2 separate regions of the Homo sapiens genome follow, and region 1 is linked to region 2. The links are contacts of gene promoters, found by promoter capture Hi-C in blood cells and fetal thymus (Javierre and others, 2016). All regions are on one chromosome and are shown on one strand. Each heading gives the region's core, a stretch centred on a gene start or on the middle of the fragment in contact. The rest is flanking DNA. Distances are from core to core; before and after follow the strand shown.

Region 1 (3,687 bases), core at 539-3,038, 240 kb before region 2:
TCTAGCACCCAGGAATCTGCATTCACATCCACCCATCCACCGTGATTCTTTTGCATACTGTATTTATTTTATTGCCTACAGGTCTAGAATCCCCTTAACTCTGCCCTTTGCCTTCAGGGAGAACGGAGGGTCCTAGCAGAGAAAACTTCTGAATTTTCCGGCCCCTCTGACAACTGGAGTTAAGAGGACTGACTGACACCACAAAGTGACTGCTGGAAAGAGAAACCAGAGGGCAGGTGCAGAGGGAAGGCCTTCGCTGTGGGAACGTCACCATACCCTCGCAAGTGGGGAGAGAGATGAGGAACTGGTGGGAGTCCCACAGCAGCTTCCCTTGCAGACCTCTCCCACATGTGTGCCCGTGTGTGAGAAATGGAAGAGGGCTTAGCTGGGGGTTCGGCTTAGGGATGCAGGAAAGGTCGAGCTCTGAGGCTGTGATGGCACACCAAGGGCTTCTCCGTCCTCAGCAGAGCAGCAAGGGAAGCAGTAAGGCTAGTGTGGGTTGCTGAGAAGACAGGCTCAAGACATGTTCCTTAAGTGTCATGTGCCAGACCCCAGTGGCCCTCTGTCATTCCTAGGCAAGGTCTTGGGAAGACAGATGATAATGAGGGGAACCAGGCCCTGCAGAGACACATTTTTGCCAAGCCCCTCGGTTAGAGCACAGCTGAGACTTTAAACCCCAAAGGTGGGTCTTTTGTAATCTGGTCTTGGCTTGCTGGAAAAGGCTATCAGGGGCCCAGGAAGGGGTTGAGAGAGCCCAGTGCCCACCAGCCTGTGGGAAGCCAGGAACTCCCCAACTGCCACTGGTCAGCCATTCCACAGGTCATTCTTGAGCACCAGCTATGTACCAGGCACAGTGGTAGCAACTGGGGAACATCAAGATGAACAAGGGTCTTGCCTCAGGAAGTGAACATTCTAGTGAGGGAAACAGATAAACTAAAAAAGTAAAAATATTTACAGGTGCCCTGAAGGAAATAAACAGGGCCTTTTGAGAGACAATAACAGGTAGTTTTATTTTGGAAAATGTAGTCTGAGGAAGTGAAATCTTTTTTTTTTAGACAGGGAGTCTTGCTCTGTTGCCCAGGCAAGAGAGCAGTGGTGCGATCATGGCTCACTGCAGCTTTGAACTCCTGGGCTCAAGCCTCAGCCTTCCAAGTAGCTGGAACTACAGGTGCATGCCACCACACACCTGTGGTGTCTTAATTTCGTAACTTTTTTTTTTTTCCCTAAGAGACAGGGTATCACTATGTTGTCCAGGCTGGTCTCAAACTTCTGGCCTCAAGCAATCCTCCTGCCTTGGCCCCAGTCACTGGGATTAAGGGCTTGAGCCACCCCACCCAGCAGGAAAGTAGTTAAACTGAGAAGAAGCCTGTCATTTAAAAAGCCAGGACAAGGCAGAGGAAACTGCCTGTGCAAAGGTCCTGGGATGGGAAAGCTTGGGGATTTGGGACAATAATAGTAACACTGTGGCTATTGGGGGAGAGGGAGGCAGATGAGAGTGGAGAAATGGGAGGGGGTGGGGCATATGACACAAGGCCTGTGGACAGAGTGTAGCTGGTTCCAGTTTCTGGTGTGCAAGAAACAGAACTTGAATTTTCTTTAACTCACTTGAATTCCTGTATTTTGCCCTACTCAGCCAGAGTGGCAGAAAGTTAATTGCGGTCAATTCACAGTTCCCCCATTTTCCTTGGCATTCTGTTGGAATTCTAGGGCTCTTCCTTTCAAGGTGCCAAAGCATGGGAAGCATAGTCTGATTTGGTCATCCAGTCACACTAGCATCCACTGAGATGTTCTCATCTGGTTGTGACCTTTTGTCATCAGCCCATGAAGGTTGCTGCTGAGTTGCTCCCCATCCCCCCACCAAAAGACCCCTCCAAGTGTAACCCATACCCCTCTCAGGTGTGCAGAGTTTTGTTTTGTTTTGTTTTGTTTTTCTGCTTTCCCCAGGCCATGTTAGGCCTAGGAAATTCTTGAGTCTTAGGTGAGTTAGGCCCTGTTTGTCCAAAATGCAGCATGCAGCCATTTCTCCAGAGGGTTTTGTGACTTCCCTGGTGCCCCACCCAGGAAAAGGAGCACAGCTCCTCTCTGCTTCTCAATCCCTTGGACCCAGATGATATTCCCAGTTACAAGACTGAGGAGAAGCTTCTCTCTTCTCAGGGACCCCCCTCCTCAATCTCAGACTCCCAGATCCCCGTTATAGTTTTCTAAATGTGTGTCTGCACAGAAATTCTGTCCATTCCTCCCTGAAAGCTAAGCTTTTGGAATTCAGAAGCTAAAAATAGGCCCTGCATTCTGTTGTATCATTTGTTTCCCGAAGTAATGAATACAGAGTAACTTATCTGTGTAAGAGAAGGAGGGAGAACACCAAGGAAAAGATGAAAAACAATGCAAAGTGTTACTGTCCCACCAGATTCTGGATAGTGTGGAGGCAGAGGGAAAAAGACTAAAAAAGGCTTTGAAGGTGGGAAAGTTGGGAACTGCTGCTACTGACCCAGTCCAACTCTGTCATTTTACAGCTGAGGAAACTGAGGCTCAGAGAGGGAAAGGGGCTCTCCCCAGGTCCCATGGCTAAGTTAGAGGCAGAGTGCCAAGATGGGCACCATAATGGTCATGAAAAATAGCTACTGGCCAGGTGCAGTGGTTCACACCTATAATCCCAGCACTTTGGGAGGCTGAGGTGGGAGGATCACTTGAGCCCAGGAGTTCAAGACCAGCCCTGGCAACACAGTGAGACCCTGTCTCTATAAAAATTTTTTTAAAAATTAGCAGGATATGGTGGGACACACCTGTAAGTCCCAGCTACTCAGGAGGCTGAGGTGGGAGGATCTCTTGAGCCTGGGAGTTTGAGGGTGCAGTGAGCTGTGATTGTGCCACTGCACTCCAGCCTAGGCAACAGCAAGACCCCGTCTCTAAAATAAAATAAATGAAAAATAGCTACTCTTTGTTGAATTTTACTACTTGCCCTGTGCTGGGTGCTCTGATGCTCCACAAGGGCAGAGCTGTTGTCTGGTTATGCCGAATCTCCAGCATCTAGCTCAGTGCTCTGCACATAGTGGGCACTCCATCAATCTTGTGGAATGAAAATAATCCTTTTTTTTTTTTTTTTGACATGGGGTTTCACTCTTGTTGCCTGAGCTGGAGTGCAATGGTGCGATCTTGGCTCACTGCGACCTCTGCCTCCCAGGTTCAAGTGATTCCCCCTGCTCAGCCTCTCAAGTAGCTGGGATTACAGGCACCAGCCACCACGTCCAGCTAATTTTTGTATTTTCAGTAGAGACGGGGTTTTGCCATGTTAGCCAGGCTGGTCTCGAACTCCTGACCTCAGACAATCCACCCACCTCGGCCTCCCAAAGTGCTGGGATTACAGGAGTGAGCCACTGCGCCCAGCCCTGAAAGTAATCTTATTATATCATTATAAAAACCCCATATATTAATAGCACCATTTTACATTTGAGCAAACCGGCTCAAGGAAGTTATGTGGCCTGCTCAAGGTGAACAACAGAATGGGGATTTGAACTCAGGTCTGTGTGACTCCAACTCAATGATCTTAACTGCTGTGCTATTCTGTTTCCCAGCACTCTTGGCATCATACTGATGACAGAGTATAAGAGGTGCCTTTGTTCACCACAGTGGTGGTACCTAGCCACAGGGTGTAGGTCTGACACTCAAAATTTGCCAGATTTAGGCCTT
Region 2 (3,400 bases), core at 302-2,801:
TCTAGAACCGCCCTGCTTGACAGCAGGCAGGGTGGGGTTGGGTGGCTGGCTGTGAGTGTGACTCAGGTTTCTGTGGGCAGCCAAGGGCAGCCGGCAGGGAGGAGCCCAGACCGACAGACCGGCTGGCCAACTGCAGCTTTCACCTCAGCTGTCCTCTGTCCTGGGAATGCAGAGGGCTCTTGTCTAGCTGAGCTGGCCCTTGGGGGCTAGTTGACTCCTGCTTTCCTCCCCCAACCCCAACCAACCCTCAAGTTCCTTCCCAGAGCCCTCGGCCCTTGGCTCCCTCCCCTGTGGCATTACACAGGATGGAGAGTGAGGGGTCACTGCCTCTAGGGAGGAAACAGAATGTCTGGGGAAAAGGGTATAATAATGATTGGTCCTGCACCCTGAGGGAGGGACTGGGGGAACCCTGGGCACCAGCTTGCAGCCTCAGCGGCCCCCCAGCCCTCCCTAGCCTGGCTGGCTCGTGTCTGGACAGGCTGGTTGTCATGGTGAGGGCTAGGGGCCAGAATGCAGCTGCTACAGTCAGGCTACCAGGCCTAAGTGAACAGAGAGTGCTCAGGGACCCCCCAGCCCAGCTTCCTCAGAGTTGACCAGCTGAGAGACCGCGGGAGCTGAAACCAAAGAGCTGTGGTCAGGGACTATAGACTTCCCCTTGGTGATGGGTGAGAGTTCAGCCAGCACATTCCCTTCGTGTTTCTGGTGCCTGTTTGTTGGCTTGTTTTTGGAGGGTGGCTGGAAGGGAATACACGTTTCTTTTATGCCTTTTATGCGCCCAAGTGCTGGGCATGCGTGGCTCACCAGTCTTTACAACAACTGAGAGAGATTTAGCAACTTGCCTAAAATGGCAAAGCTGGGATTAGAACTCAGAACTGACGGCCACGACAGTTAGTGATCTTTGTTTTCTGGGAACCAGGCAGTGTAGCTGTTCTAGGGGGAGGGAGGGGGAGAAAGTGACTTGAACTTTACCTAAAAGACTGGATATTCCATCACGAGGCCACAGGTGGTAGAAGGCAGGTGCTGGCATCATTTGGGGTTTGGCAGTCTGAAGAGAAAGACACTAGCGAAATGCTTGGCACATAGTAGGTCATTAAATATTTTTCTAATGAAGAAGCCAATTCTGTGTGAGTCATTGCTAGTTTTCTGGGACATCTTGGGAGCTTCTGGAGCTGAATCGCAACAGCGGAAGACGCTAGCTCGAAAGAGGGACTTTCCAAGACCAACCCCGGCGAGAGAGGAATTTGTGGAGCATCATCTCTGAGCCGGGCGCGGGGGGAGGGGGACAAGGAGGAAGCGTGTGTGTGACCCAGGATTACCGAAGGCTGCGGACGCCACCCAGCGGCCAGGATGCTGCCCAGCGCAAGCTGGGCTCTACCAGGCAGGCGCGCGCGGAGCACTCCGGGAGTTGTAGTTGACTGTGTTAAGAGGCGGTGCTGCCAAAGGGGCTGTTGGGTGTTGTAGTCTGACGTTTGTTGGGCGGGAGTTGCCCACGTCGGCCGGACCACTAGTCCCGTGGTGCCCCGCGGGAGGCCGCGCAGGCGCAGTGAGTCAGTGCCGGTCGGTCTTGTGGGCTGAGGGGCAGCGGCTTAGGCTCCGGCGTCTGCAGGGGTCGCCGAGCTAACCCGTGGCTAGGCGAGTGGGGCGGGGCGGCCGGCACCATGTCGAGGCAGGCGAACCGTGGCACCGAGAGCAAGAAAATGGTAACTTGGAGCGCGTGACCTCGGCGGGCGGGGCGAAATTGAGGCGTACAGGGAAGGGGCCCGGCGCCGAGCGCGAGGTGCGTTTGGAAAAGGGCCTTCCTGTGAGCTCTGGCAAGGGGAAGCCTCTTGCTGGGTCACTCCGGGGGCGTTCCAGGCAGGTGAGGGGACCGTCGGAGAAGTTCCCCGGAGGAGACCCCGCCCCCAAGGCCTGAGTGCAGCTCTGTGCTAAGCCAACAACAACGACGGTAATAAATACCAATAACTGCCACTTAACTTCTCTCTTACTATGTGTTGGGCACCGGGCCACGCACGTTACAGCATCTCAGTTAATCTGCAGAGTAGCCCCTATCAGATGGATAACATTGCCGTTTTACAGCTTGGAGAGCTTACGTAATTTGCCCATATTTACACCTGGGAAGTTAGGATTTGGACCCGTGTTTAACTCCAAAGCTAATGCTAGGAGCTGACTGTTAGGCTTTACTCTTAGGCTACAGTGTCTCGTACTGTGGCGTGGGTATTGTGAGAGATGTTCAGATACTGGTCGTGCCAGAAAGGAACGTTTTATTCAATGGAATAAGAGATGGGCCAGAGTAAGCAGTGAGTGGTGCCCCTCTAATGGAGTGGGTGGCTCCCTTCTTTCCCAGGGAATAGTTTGGACACCATATGGTCCTATAAAGTTGGACTAGGGGCTGGGGCTGCAGACTTAGGTCATTTTTCTTTCGTTCTTCCCTCCCTCCCCCCGCCCCCAGACGAAATCTCTGTCACCCGGGGTGGAGTGCAGTGGCACTAACTTGGCTCACTGCAACCTCTGCCTCCCAGGTTCAAGCAGTTCTTCTGCCTCAGCCTCCCGAGTAGCTGGGATTACAGGTGTCCACCACCACGCCTGGCTGATTTTTGTATTTTTAGTAGAGATGGGGTTTCACCATGTTGGCCAGGCTGGTCTCGAACTCCTGACCTCAGGTGATCCGCCTGTCTCGGCCTCCCAAAGTGCTGGGATTACAGGCGTGAGCCACTGCGCCTGACCAATTTTTGTATTTTTAGTAGAGACGGGGTTTCACCATGTTGGCCAGCCTGGTCTCGAACTCGTGGCCTTAAGTGATCTGCCTGTTCAGGCTCCCAAAGTGCTGGGATTACAGGGGTGAGCCACCACACCCGGCCAAAAGACGAGAATATTTTGTTAGGAAACAATGTCAGGTAAGGGGAAACACATGGACCTTGGTTGGAATTCTGACTTACTTGATTGATCTTCAATTTCTTTATCTATAAAATGGGGATAGTAATGTCTACCTAATATTAAATGGGATGGTGTAAAATGTGAGGGGCATGGTAAATGTTTCTTTCTCCTTTTCCTATGAGATGAGTAGAGGTCTTCCTGGTTAGTTTTTGTACTTTGCTCTCATTTTATCCATTTTTTAAGCCTGAAATCAATATTGAAATCTTTAACAAAAATCTGCAGACTCTACCCCCAGCCCCCAGTATTCTTCGTTTCAGTGAAGTAAGGTAATTAGGGAGGGGCAGCAGCATACTCCTGCCCTCAAGGCTCTTGGAACTCCCTTCTTCTAGATAGTCACTTAGCCCACTCCTGCCTTCATTCATAGTTACTCAAATGTCACCTCCTTTGAGAGGCCTTCCCTCCTGATTACCTGCCTAATTCTCTAACCTCTAACTCTATGCTGGTTGTCTTCATAGCACTGTCTATT

The links. The method cuts DNA at HindIII sites, captures the fragments that hold promoters and counts their contacts. A CHiCAGO score of 5 or more calls a contact.
Region 1: a fragment that was not itself captured here is called in contact with the fragment with the promoter of TRAPPC3 in region 2 in 15 of 17 cell types (naive B cells, total CD8 T cells, total B cells and 12 more); the score reaches 12.0 in naive B cells.

What each region holds. Positions count from the first base shown.
Region 1 is chr1:36,388,035-36,391,721 of GRCh38, reverse strand. LOC124904012 (a long non-coding RNA gene) reads right to left here. Exons shown (of 2, transcript XR_007065779.1): 2 at 984-3,687. Among named protein-coding and RNA genes, the nearest start is that of STK40, 4.0 kb to the right of the region's middle. The HindIII fragment of the contact is 707 bases long and covers 1,435-2,141 here.
Region 2 is chr1:36,147,637-36,151,036 of GRCh38, reverse strand. It overlaps TRAPPC3 (trafficking protein particle complex subunit 3), which reads left to right and starts at 1,551. Exons shown (of 5, transcript NM_014408.5): 1 at 1,551-1,700. The coding sequence starts at 1,659. RefSeq lists enhancers at 998-1,657, 1,788-1,867, 1,221-1,881. The HindIII fragment of the contact is 15,390 bases long and covers 1-3,400 here.